Regions from separate parts of the Homo sapiens genome. Here regions 2, 3 and 4 are each linked to region 1. Evidence: promoter capture Hi-C in 16 types of primary human blood cells and fetal thymus (Javierre and others, 2016). All regions are on one chromosome and are shown on one strand. The core of a region is centred on a gene start or on the middle of the fragment in contact, and the rest is flanking DNA. Distances in the headings are between cores, read along the strand shown. Region 1 holds the start of TYW2 (tRNA wybutosine-synthesizing protein 2). Region 2 overlaps FAM91A1 (family with sequence similarity 91 member A1). Region 3 has its middle 33 kb from the start of FER1L6. Region 4 overlaps ZNF572 (zinc finger protein 572).

The links. The method cuts DNA at HindIII sites, captures the fragments that hold promoters and counts their contacts. A CHiCAGO score of 5 or more calls a contact.
Region 2: a contact is called between a fragment that was not itself captured here and the fragment with the promoter of TYW2 in region 1, in 1 of 17 cell types (M1 macrophages). The highest score is 5.9, in M1 macrophages.
Region 3: a fragment that was not itself captured here is called in contact with the fragment with the promoter of TYW2 in region 1 in 1 of 17 cell types (M1 macrophages); the score reaches 5.8 in M1 macrophages.
Region 4: a fragment that was not itself captured here is called in contact with the fragment with the promoter of TYW2 in region 1 in 2 of 17 cell types (total B cells and non-activated CD4 T cells); the score reaches 5.9 in total B cells.

The regions. Positions count from the first base shown.
Region 1 is chr8:124,449,570-124,452,856 of GRCh38, reverse strand. It overlaps TYW2 (tRNA wybutosine-synthesizing protein 2), which reads right to left and starts at 2,037. Exons shown (of 1, transcript NM_017956.4): 1 at 1-2,037. The coding sequence starts at 1,929. The coding sequence ends at 583. The HindIII fragment of the contact is 1,607 bases long and covers 1,257-2,863 here.
Region 2 is chr8:123,791,462-123,794,748 of GRCh38, reverse strand. The region is part of intron 15 of FAM91A1 (family with sequence similarity 91 member A1); the gene reads right to left. Among named protein-coding and RNA genes, the nearest start is that of FAM91A1, 25 kb to the right of the region's middle. The HindIII fragment of the contact is 587 bases long and covers 1,185-1,771 here.
Region 3 is chr8:123,817,381-123,820,667 of GRCh38, reverse strand. No RefSeq gene overlaps it. Among named protein-coding and RNA genes, the nearest start is that of FER1L6, 33 kb to the left of the region's middle. The HindIII fragment of the contact is 972 bases long and covers 1,326-2,297 here.
Region 4 is chr8:124,974,003-124,977,289 of GRCh38, reverse strand. It overlaps ZNF572 (zinc finger protein 572), which reads right to left. Exons shown (of 3, transcript NM_152412.3): 2 at 1,571-1,684; 3 at 1-942. The coding sequence starts at 1,649. Among named protein-coding and RNA genes, the nearest start is that of ZNF572, 2.4 kb to the right of the region's middle. The HindIII fragment of the contact is 208 bases long and covers 1,729-1,936 here.

The DNA.
Region 1 (3,287 bases), core at 788-3,287:
GCTTGGTCTGTCAATTTTATTTATCATATCAATCTACCTCCCATTACCACCATCCGAGTCCAAGTTACCATCACCTCAGACCTGGACAACCACAGAAGCCTCCTCACTGGTCTCTCTGTTTCCATCTTGGCCCTCCTTCAGTCAATTTTCTATATGGTAGCCAGAGCAATTTGGAAAAAGCACTGTGTCTTTCACTCTAAAATAACCGATGTCCTGTGTATAGTTGCTTAATAGTCACGTGAGACAGTTCAAAGAAACTCTCATTTTGCAAATAACGAAACCCGAGGCCAAAACATACTGAAACTTCAATTCCAGAACTGAGGTCAGAATTTGGAATTCATAATTGCACAGATGAGCCTCATTTCAATGGGCCATGCTGCTTCTCCCAAACAGGTATTTCATTTTCTGTTATCAATGAAAGACAAATGAAATAATTTGAATTGATCTAGAGCCTGCTTTCAGGGCTATAAAATATGAAAAAAACTGATCACCAGGGGACAAAAGGGATGACAACCTGGACTGAACTGATACATTTAAGGGCCACTCGCACGTGGATCCCATGTGTCCCAGGATCTACCTCCTCTAGCCAACTGAAGGACAGGGGCAGCATTCCAGATCCAGGACTATGTGATCCACATGGGGAGCATAGGATTTCACTGGTTGGATGTGCAGAATTTGTGTCTTCCATGGTTTCCCATGCACCTGCTGAAGAAGAGTGGCGATTCGAGTTTCTGCAGATTCTGCCCACCTTTGCCACTCTGGCTTGGTGGCTGGTGACAGCATTTTTCCCCTAGAATCCCTGGTAGCTCCATTTTTCCATTGGTTGGTGGTAATTTGCTGAGGATACAGCCAATGCTCTTTCTCTACTTTGCTGACTCCAAGAGCCTGAAGATTCTTCCCTGGGAAAGATTCCACATTTTGGTGGATATGCAAAATGCCTCCAGCATCCTGCCTTAACACTTGGCAGGCAATGGGCCAGCCTTCTTCAGAGCTGGGAATCAGCCCCAGGATCACCCTATCTGCAATATTTGAGAGCTTCAGTTTTCTGTTATCTCCAAAGTGTATTTGGCACCGATCTGCTACTCCATTGATCTCAAGGTTATTTCTCAGAGCAACTACAGCATGGGGATTCCACTCACAAGCATGGACGAAGGCAGCACCAGCATGAACTAGGAAAGGCAATGTAAAATAACCAATCCCTGCATAGAGATCCACCAGCACTTCTCCAGCACAGGACAACGATGCCACTCGAAGCTTCTCAGTGATGTTTCCAAAGGAGAACATACACTGGGTCACGTCAAACTTATAACGGATACCATTATCCACATGCTCTACCCAGCCATGGTCACCCAGCAGCAGTGTCACTGCTGGAGTTCGAGTACCATCCGGTGATACCCGCCCTCGTTTTGCCAAACGCTGGACGCCAAGTGCCAAGGCAACGGTCTCCCAGAGTTCCGGTCCCAGATTTTTCCACTGCTTGGCTTGGAAACAGTCTTCACTCAGCAACAAGAGATTACCATGCCGTTGCCATGATCGGGGCAAATCAGCCTCCAACTCGGCTGACCACTTGACTCCCCGACCCTCCACCCAGCGACTCACCTCAAGACACAATTTTTGGGCAGGTGAACAACCCTGGGCCCTCTTCGAAGGAACAGGATCCGGGAGCTGCGTGAGCATACAGGGACTGCCTGGGGCAACACGATTCCTCAGCTCCTGCAGGTGCTGCTCTGGAAGCGTCTCTCCCAGCACCGGTAGCGCCACCGAGCCATCCGGCATCTTTTCCACACGGTGCTGTGTATCAAAGAGTTTCTGCCTCTGGAGATATTCTCTGTATCGCTGGGTAAACCAAGGCTCAGTCACAACTGCGACAACAGCCACGGGCTTCCCACTTTCTCTCTCCATGTTGCTAACAACCACATTCTCTCTCATCACCTCAGCGATACTCCATCTCCTCAGAGTCGGCTCACCAGGCTGACTAAATTCCCGGTCTTAAATAAGGTAGCCTGCAGCTCACCCGGCCATGCCGGTGCCGGAAATGACGTGCAAAGAGGCCGGAACTAAATATATTGATGCGCTTGCTTGAGAATGGCGTTGCCGTTGCTGTGGAGAAGCTGCGGCCGCCATCTTTTTTATGGTCAACCATTACTTTTTTTTCAGCCTAGGAAGACATTTATAACAGGGAATCTTATGGACTAAAAGACTTCAAATTGCTATTTTCCAGAAACCTCATGCACTCTCTTCAGTGCTGCTCATGAATTCAAAGAGAAAAATTAACATGAAATTGTCAGAGGCGCATGAACCAGAGCAACTCCATCTTAAATAGGAGCTGGGTAAAATGAGGCTGAAACCTACTGGGCTGCATTCCTAGACGGTTAAGGCACTCTAAGTCGCCAGATGAGATAGGAAGTCAGCATAAAATACAGGTCAAAAAGACCTTGCTGATAAAACAGGTTGCAGTGAAGGAGCGGCCAAAATCCACCAAAACTAAAATGGCCACGAGAGTGACCTCTGGTGGTGCTCACTGCTACACTCCCACCAGCGCCATGACAGTTTACAAATGCCATGGCAACGTCAGGAAGTTACCCTATATGGTCTAAAAAGGGGAGGCATGAATAATCCACCCCTCGTTTAGCATATCATCTGGAAATAACCATAAAAATGGGCAACCAGCAGCCCTCATGGCTGCTCTGTCTATGGAATAGCCATTCTTTTATTCCTTTACTTTCTTAATAAACTTGCTTTCACTTTGCACTGCGGACTTGCCCTGAATTCTTTCTTGCATGAGATCCAAGAACCCCATGTTGTAGTCTGCATTGGGACCCCTTTCCTGTAACAAAATGATGATCTGAATTTGGAGAAAGCTTTCCCATAGCCTAATGCTGCTCTCAGGTTAGCATCAGCAGCCACCTTATTTTCTGAAAGTGAAGAGTCAGATACAGCTCCCTTTTTCCCTTTTCATGCAGATATAGTCATCACTGTTTCATTGTCCTTTGGTCCAAGAAACAACTATTTGAAAGTCAGAAGGATCTGAGTTCCAGTAAATCGTATCACCCCTCAAAATTGGAATCTTCACTTATAAAATGGAATCTAATCTTCAGAAGATTGCTATAGTGAGTAGAGACATTATAGTGTCTTAGACAATAACTAGTAAAGAGTAGATACTTAAAAAGATACAAAGTAACAAGTTGGCTAGCTCACAGGTACTAAATACCTGTTGAAATGCTTTGATATTCCTAAAGAAGACAAAGGGGAATTCCATATAGACTAAATCAAATAGTTGGATATAA
Region 2 (3,287 bases), core at 229-2,728, 660 kb after region 1:
ATGGCTCCCCTAGTGTTATTTGAGGTTTATGGTACTGCACTAAATCAATGAAAAATATGAGAGAACCATGAGTGATCACTTTTAACTGCAATAGGCAATTTAACGTAAAGACAAATTGCTCACTCAGAGATGATCAGCGTCACAGGGCATTTTAAGCAGGTACTCAAGTAGATACAACACTTGAGCTCACCACAATAGCAACAAGAGATACCTACAAAATTATTACAGTAGTACCATATGTACTACAGGTAATTCTATGCAGTTATAGCTTAATACTATATCTTTCCATTTATTTACATTTCTCTCAACTGCAATGTCACTGTGTGATCTGTAAATGTGTGCATTAAGTTTTGATATGTTTGAATGTTTTATAATGGATCTGTATATATTTTATGATAATAAATGATAAAATAGACTAGTATCTACATATATTTTATGCATACATGACCTATGTAACTTTTCCTTAACTTCTTTGACATTTCTAGGCTATGAGATTTGTCTGCAAGTTTTTTCAAGTTGTCACAAATTTCCAAAAAAATGTTCCAAAACGTTTACTCATAAAAATTATCCCATAAGTGGACCTGTGCAATTCATAGCCACGTTGTTCACTTGTCAACTGTATAACGAAAGCCAAAGTGTCAGGAGAAGCTATGTGCTTCTCTCCTCCAGTTTCCGATCTCTACAAAGAGAATCATAGCCAAGTCCTCATTTTAGTATAAGGGCAAGAGCTCCTCATTTGGAAATGTGTACCCTAGATTTCTGGTCCGTAGAGCATGAACTCACTCAACATACAACAGATTTTAAGCATTCTTATTCTTAATCCTTTTGAACAATACGAAATCCTATTGCTCTCTAAAAAGAGATATTTAACGTTAAAAGAAACTTCAGAAGAGCAAGGTAGCTATATCCTCCTTCAAGCAAGAATACATCTAAAAATATACATATATACATATAATGGCCTCCTGAAAATGCCTAGAAGCAATGAGCACAACTAACACCAGTATCTTGGTCTCTAATAGCAATCCCCAGTAAAAGACATTAGGCTCCTAGGACAAATGGCTGATTCCAGGACTGAGGCAGAATAAATACACAATAAGATGCTATTGCTTGGCCAGAAAGTAAAGAATTGCTTAGCGGAGAAACCTGGAGGCATGTCATAAGGAGAAAGGAGACAGGAGCAAGCTTAAAGGAAATCCTCATGGCAAAATCTGAGAAAACTGGGGCACGAAAATAATTGAGAGACAATAATGACTAATCGCAGACTACTGAAAAGATAAGAATTCATAAATTCATACAGAGAATACGAGAGAATGCCTGGTCACAACTGCTAAATATGGCAGAACTGCTCAAGTGGGGGAAAAATTACCAATTTCCAACCATCAAAGTACAGAATGGTTCAGGCAAGAACCACCAATGGATTCTAAATCTAGGAGGAAACACTGATGAGGAGTGGGATATCTGCATGGTCTCAAAGTATCTCCCCACCAATTGCTTATCAGTTGTGAGAGAAAAAAAATAGTTGACTATACAGTGGAAAAATCAGACAATGCATTAACTGGGTGATCAAAATTAACATCACCAATGAAGGGTAGATGGAAAGCATGGGGTGTGAGGAAGTAGGATGACAGGGTGAGGTATAGGATAGCAGATCACAGAATGTTTAACCATAACGTCAGCATATTTTCTGGGAGGGGTCCTAAAGGAAGGGCTACATCCTGGCTTAGGTTGAGGGTGAGTCAAAGTTCATGGGGCTGGAAGAAGGAGAGAAGCTTAAACAAGCTTTGGCTAACAAGCATTTTGTTCTGATTGATAATTCAGAACAGGCAGTTCAACTCACTGCTTATGAGGCAAAGAAAGGGAATTTGGTGGATCTGTTTCTGACCTTGTCATAGGTGAACAGAAGGGAGTGGGGAATTCACCTGTGAATCTTATCTAAGTCATACGGGGAAAAAGTGGGTCCTTGCACTAAGCCCCTTCCCAAAACACAAAAGAGTGAAGGGACGTCTTAACCCTCAGGCAAAATTCAACATTATCAATGTCAAGTATAGATAATATTTAATGTATACTACAACAGGGAAAGTAGGAAGTCTAAAGAGTTCATGGTGGTTAGAACACGTTTCTAATAGCTTGACAACTGTGATTGCTTTCCTACAAATGTGGTTTAATTCCTAAACATTTCCACAGTACTAGAATGCCAAATTATAAACAGTGGTTTTTATGTCTGACTTATACTAATCACAGTTAAACAATGTCCTTTTAAAGACAAAGATACCTGGGGGAAAAAAATCATGCTTAGAAAACGAGAAAAAAACAGACCACGCATGACTTTTATTTATAAACAGTACGCCGTGCTATTTAAAACCAAGGGATTAAGGACTCCTAGGACTAAGACACTAGTTCCATGTATAACAGAGTTTGCTTGTATAATATCACAATGCTTTTGCTTTATAGTAGATAACAAGTACTACATGATATACTCAAAGTATAAATTATTAGTGACATAAAAAGAAAATTCTTTTTCCTCAAACAAGACGCTTAAAACACCAATACTAGAGGATTTCTTTTTTTTCTTCTGAGACGGAGTCTCAGTCTGTCACCCAGGCTGGAGTGCAGTGGTGTCATTTCAGCTCACTGCAACCTCAGCCTCCCAGGTTCAAGCAATTCTCCTGCCTCAGCCTCCCGAGCAGCTAAGATTACAGGTGCCTGCCACCACACTTGGCTAATTTTTATATCTTTAGTAAACACGAGTTTTCACCATGTTGGCCATGCTGGTGTTGAACTCCTGACCTCAAGTGAACCGCCTGCCTCGAGCTCCCAAAGTGCTGGGAATACAGGCATGAGCCACCACACCCGGCAGAGAATTTCTTTTCTAAAAAAGAGTAAGGTTCAGTTACCAAGCCCAGTAACTGCAGAAAGCAACATTTCTCAACAGGCTGAGCATGAAGCCTTAATGCCCTAAGATATCCTCTACATAGAACGAATGACCTTTTTCATGCATTGAGAACGGTACTAATGTGCACCATCATTAGAAAAACTGAGAAATAGTCACGCCAATCATTTCCATGTTCTGCAATTCAGATGAGGAGCTAAGCTAAGAAATGCTGGTAGCAAAAATGAAATTTCATAAGTAATTGCAGGTTTGGTCTTAAGGGGAGGCATTCATCAAATTTAACTTTGGAGACCCAGCAATTATTCTAAGCAATTAAATCTCCAACTAGGGTCAGGAACAGTCTAACATTAAACCCACCTTAAAGGTTAGGATTGCACAGGACTATTTTCATAGAGAA
Region 3 (3,287 bases), core at 562-3,061, 630 kb after region 1:
TTGACAATATGTTATAGATATCTTTTCTCACCAGTACTTAATTCTTTAAAAATTGGTCTTGTGTATCTTTATTTAGCCAGTACTCTATCAAAGAAAAAACGAGGCCTGGTGTGGTGGCTTACACCTGTAATCCCAGCACTTAGGGAGGCTGAGGCAGGCGGATCACTTATGGTCAGGAGTTCGAGACCAGCCTGGCCAATATGGTGAAATCATGTCTCTACCAAAAATACAAAAAAATTAGCTGCGCACGCCTGTAATCCAAGCTACTAGGAAAGCTGAGGCAGGAGAATCTCTTGAACCCAGGAGGCGGAGGTTGCAGTGAGCCGAGATCGTGTCACTGCACTCCAGCCTGGGCAATAGAGTGAGACTCTGTCTCAAAAAAAAAAAAAAAAAAAAGTGGCCTTTTTCTTTTGGTTGTTTTTTTTCTGTTATAAACAAAACTGCAATAAACATCTTCCTACACAAATATACACATACATGCAAAGGTCATATTCCCAGGGGGCATATCGTTGTATCAAAGAATATATAGTACACCTTAAATTCTGATATTGTCAAATTTCCTTCCCCAAAAAAGCTGTAATTTGCCCTCCAATTAATGTTGCATATGAAATCCATGCTTTCCAAGGTTGTCACCAGACCTAGGTATTAACAATCTTTTTCATTTTTGTCAGTCTGTCAGGTGGGAAACACTACCTCACAGTAGTTTTAATTTCTTTTATAAGTTATCGTTTTATGTTGGCCATTAATTATTTTCTATGAACTACCTATTCATGTATTTTTCCTATTTTTCTAGAGTCTGGCTTGTCTTTTTTACTTATAAGGGGTGTTTGTATAGTGAGTGTAGTGGACATAGAGATGTGCTCCTTAGATCTCTATTCAAGACCAGACTCACCATCCTGCAGCAACAAGGGTGGTTATCTGGCAACTTTCCACTGTTCATTCCTTCAGGGTTGGCTTCGGCTTTCCAGCCTGGGCCGGTCTTCTCAGGGTAGTTCCCAGCCAATGACTGAGCCAGAGGGAAGAGGATCCAAAGAGAGTAGTAACGAGATGGACACTCTATGTCCAAGCGGAAGACAGAGATGGCCAAGTGGAAGGTAGAGACAGCCCACAGGCATGCCCACCCTCTGATCCCCGATGCTCCATCAAGCACATCCACCACCCCAGTGCCAGTGGTTTCCTCTGAGAGTGGAGCTGCTGTCCCCCGAGGAAAGAGGAGGGAAGGAAGGTGGCGAGCCTATGCTTTCCTTAGGGAGCCCTGAGTGTCCAGAGCCCAGTCATTCTGCCCAGGACAGGACTCCCCTCACAGGCCATCCTAGTAGGAAGCTTATTGGTGTGGCAGGTCCACACCCTGGTCCCACGGCTCTCCCTGCAGACTCTGCTCCTTCCCTCTTCCTTCCCAGGCGCTACTCCCCAGCAAACCTCCCACACTCTTAACTCTGTCTCAACATTTGCTTCCTGGAGAACCCGACCCGTGACAGGAAGAAAATTAGTCCTTGTCATATCTAGAAAATATTTTATCTCAGGTTTAAGATTTTCTTCTGACTCAGTTTATAGAGTTCTGGCAGGCAGGAGGTTTCATTTTTATTTAGTAATAATTACCAGTTTTCTTTTAAATCTTCTGGGATTGGTGTCATCCTTTAAAAAGTCTTTATGCCAAATGTATGGAAAAAAAATCACCTGTTTCCACTTTTATGTTAATATTTTAAAATATTTAAACCTTGATCCCTCTTAAGTTTTTGGTATGAGGATTGAGGCAGAATTCCGCCCCCCTATATTTTTTCCAAATATCTGCCAGTTATCCCCAAATCAGTTACTAAATGATCCACGGACATTCCTGGATACTAATCTGAAATGCCACATTCAGATTCTTGTGTATTAAGTTCTATTTTTTAGTTTTCTGTCTGTATCTGAATAATCTGTCTGTATCTGAATTAGTACCATACTGTTTAATTACTTTAGGCTTATAATACATTTGATTACGCCTGCTGGGATAGATATTTTTAGATTTTTTTACCTTTAAGTCTCCACTGTTTCTTCTTCCAGGTTCAGCTTTAGAATCACTTTGCCAAGTTCCAAAATTTAAAGACGAAAACAAAACAAAACAAAAACTCACTGGTATTCTGAAGGAAATTGTGCTTAATTCATAATATATTTAGGGGGAATTGGTAACTTGACAATATTGAGGCTGCCTATCCAAGAACAGTTATGATTTTCCGTACATTCAGGTTTTCTTTTCTGTCCTTCAGGAGTGCTTTAAGGTGTTCCTCAAGGGTATCTTGCAAATTTCTCACTAAGCTTCTTGTCAGGTGCTGTGATCCGACTGTGTCCCCCCAAAATTCATATGTTGAAACTGTAACCCTCAACTTGATGGTATTAGGAGGTGGGGCCTTCAGAAGGTGATTAGGTCATGAGGGCAGAGCTCTAATGAGTGAGATGGGTGCTCTTAGGAAAGAGGCTTGAGGGAGCTCATTTGACCCCTCCACCCCGTGAGGACACATTGAGGAGATGGCCACCTATGAACTGGGAAACAGGACCCTCTTGTTTCAGACTCTGCCAGAGCCTTGACCATGGACTTCCTAGCCTCCAGAACTGTGAGAGAGAAATGTTTGTTGCTTCTAAGCAGCTGTGGACTTTTGTCTACCTGAACTAAACTGAACAAACTAAGACATCCAGTATTTCACTTTATTTTATATTTATGCATGGGTACATATTTATTGAGGTTTTTGTTCTTAGTATTAAGAAAGATCTTTTACTTTATATTTATACATAATTTTTGCTACTAAGGTAGCTCTTTTCTTTCCTTATATCAATATAACTGGTTGTTGATTACAGATAAGAAAGCTACTTACTGAAGTCTGTTTCTAATGTTTCAGGTAACTTTTGCATCTTCCTAGTATATAAGTATCTGAAAAATTATAATTTTTCCCCATCCTTTTAAATGTGACTACCTCTTATTCTTTTGCCTAATTTCATTAGCTACTAATTCCAATGTTACATGCCTAATAATGGTTTGGTGGGGATACTTGTGCTGTTTATGTCCTGGGAGACTATTGCTTCCAGAAATTCAGAGTTAAAAATGATTCTGCATTGTTTATAGAATAAACTATGTGGTATCCAAGTTTTGCCTTAAAATAATCTAGTGGTGGGGGAAATAGTATCGTTGTGTGTGTGTGTATATTTACACACACACATATATACATATATAAGTGGTCTTTGTTTTGTATATATGCAATGAGGGGCTAAACATGAATCACTGTGGAAACTGGGTGATGGGTGCATGAAGCTTC
Region 4 (3,287 bases), core at 583-3,082, 520 kb before region 1:
AACTACGACTAAAATTCTTCCCACATTCTGGACATTGATAAGGCTTTTCTCCTGTATGTATTCTCTGATGTTTTATTAGAGTAGAATTACAACCAAAGCTTTTTTCACACTCAAGACATTTGTAGGGCTTCTCACCTGTGTGTGTCCGCTGGTGGCGAATGAGGCTGGAACTCTGACTAAAACTCTTCCCACAATCAGGGCACTTATAAGGTTTTTCTCCAGTGTGAGTCCTCTGATGTTCTATTAGGACATAGCTGTGACTGAAGCCTTTTCCGCAGACAGAACATTCATATGGTTTTTCACCTGTATGTGATCTGTGATGCTGAATAAGGTGAGAGCTGCTGCTGAATCTCTTCCCACACTCGGGACATTTGTAGGGTTTCTCTCCCGTGTGAGTTCTCTCATGGATAATAAGATGGGAGGTATTGCTGAAGCTTTTCCCACATTCACCACACTGGTAGGGCTTCTCTCCTGTGTGCATTCTTAGATGCTGAATCAGGTGAGAACTGTTACAAAAACATTTTGCACACTCAGAGCATTTATAAGGCTTTTCTCCTGAGTGGGTCCTCTGGTGAGTACGCAAATGAGAACTATTACTGAAGCTTTTCCAACATTCGGAACATTTATAGGGTCTGTCTACAAAGGATGAATTCTGCTGGACACAGGCATTGGTATGTTCTCCTGAGTCCCATTCCTGGTGATTGGGTTTTTCCTCCTCTTTAGCTATAAAATTTCCCCAATTCTCTGACTTGCCATCACTCTCATAGGAATCATGACACCAAATCTCATCTTGAACCCATGTCAGTGGCATTTCTTTTGCATCCTCATGCTTATAATGTTGTGGTCTATGTCTTTTAGACCATTCTGAAGGTTTCTCTTTAAGTTTATCTGCCTTAGAATTATTGTGGTGAACAGTTTCCAAATTATTCATACTTGTATCTCCTGCAAGAATAAACAAATATTCTAACCATATTCCAAATCTCTGCCAGAGAAGTAAATTCTAAATTGCAGTGGAAGAGAGGAAATAACACTGTAAAACCTCATAAATAATTTCATATAAAAAAGTTTTTAAAGACAGTTTTACTTCTTTTCCTCTGTTTACCAGAAGCAGGTGGATTTTTTTTTGTACCTAGCAACAACAATAATGAATTATTTGAATCATTATTGGCAAAGGGAACATCAATCTAAAAATAAATGCATTAGGTTTTGTTCTAGAAGACTTAAGAGAAAAAACAGGATTGATGTGAATAGAAGTTAAATTGAACAGGATACCATCTCAGGTAAAAACTAGACAATAGCTTTGCTAAAATCTGAGCAAATGCTATAGAAATAACAATAGCCACTATTTATTAAGAACAGTAGCTTTGGATACGGTATCTCACTAATTCTAAAATATATGTGAAATAGATATTATTCATTTTCTTAAAGATGAGAACAATGAGGCTGAAATAATTAACACAGCTTATAAGTGACAGAACAAGGAATTAAATTAAGGTTTGTCTCATTCTAGTGTCCTGTTCTTTCTACATCAAATTTCCTAAGGATTCAGATCATCGTCTTGATCCCTCACCTGTGAAAGGGCTTTTCAAACTCTCCCTCTCCATAAAGCTGTTAGAATCTGAGACCAACAGTTTTTTTTCTTGCTCCATCACAATGATCACAGCCAAGTTAGAGATCAGAAACCCTGTGGAAGGAAATAAATTATGTTTGGAGGTATTTGTTAAAGCTTATTCTTCCTCCTTCCTTCCCAACCATTCCAACACAACAATAGGAGGCATAGAATGTTCCATGAACCATACCGAAAATAAGAAACACAACTTTTAGCAGCCCTTTTAGAAAATCTTATCTCAGATCTAAGTGTTTAGAATTAAGGGTTAACCCTGAAATAACAATGCAAAAAAGTAAATCTTCACATTAAAGGTCTGAGGATCAAGCTTCAAAGACAGAATACTAATCCTCATTGTCCACACGTAGCTTAGAAACACTTTTACTTTAAAAAGCAAAGTATTTTTTTTAAGACACCAATAATAAAACTTATAAAGACTTCAAGGAATCAATATGAAGGCATAAGCAGCAGCTAAAGAAAAAAAGCACCCTGTTTAGTTTCAAAAGAATAACTTGGTCTTGACAGAAGGAAACCTTTGAAGTCAATTTCAAAGGAAAGTTAGGATTTATATAACCAGTAAAGAGAAATTAGGACAAAGCCGAGGTGGAATAATTATAGCCAATAACCCTGCAATATAAAAAGGAGGCTAAAGAGGGACCTCTTCCTCCTTGCACTTAGTTCCTAAGTCTATCATATTCACAATATCCATTTCAGCCTAAACTTCGTCTTCTGGAGCCAACAATCACTAACCTATTTTAAGGGACTAGAAAATGTTCCATCCTGGCTAATGCGGTGAAACCCCATCTCTACTAAAAATACAAAAAATTAGCCGGGTGTGGTGGCGGGCGCCTGTGGTCCCAGCTACTCAGGGGGCTGAGGCAGGAGAATCGCTTGAACCCAGGAGGCAGAGGTTGCAGTGAGCCGAGATCGTGCCATTGCACCACTCCAGCCTGGGTGACAGAGCAAGACTCTGTCTCAACAAAAAAAAAGAAAAAAGAAAAAGAAAAAGAAGAAAATGTGATCTATCACAGGAAGGCAGTGACATATGGACTTTTGGCATCCATTTCAGAATATAAAGAGTATCATTATTTGGGAGAAAAATAAGGACGTAAAAGGATATACAAATGCACACATTTTAAAAACAAAAAATAGTATATGTACTTATATTGTATCTTCACCATTACTGCCTATTATGTGCCAGGTAGTGAATGAAATAATTTGCACACATTTGTCATTTAATTCTTACAGTAGCCCTCTGAAGTGTATGAACAACTACCAGCATTTTATAGGATGAGTTTGAAAGGTATTAAGAAACTTTCCTAAGGTCACCTAGAAAGTGGTAGAGCAGGACTGAGCTCCAAGTCTGTTTGGATGCTGACCTTTTTCACCCTCTGATCTATTATCGTAAACTAGAACAGGAAGCAGAGCTGGGCATAATCCCAAACTGCAAAGAATCCTCAGAGTCCCTTTATTTTAGAATATTTAGAATACTGGCATTTTAAAACAGAGGTCTACATTCCTAAACCTTGTTAACAAAGTGAGTCGACATTCCCTAAGCACACTCAGCAAGTGGGGATTTGTTCTAGAGAAACGTGAAACTAGTCTACATTACTAATATCCCCAGTGTTTGAGTTGGGGGGGAGAAAAAACCATACACCTGAATGCAAAAAAAGGAAGGGGG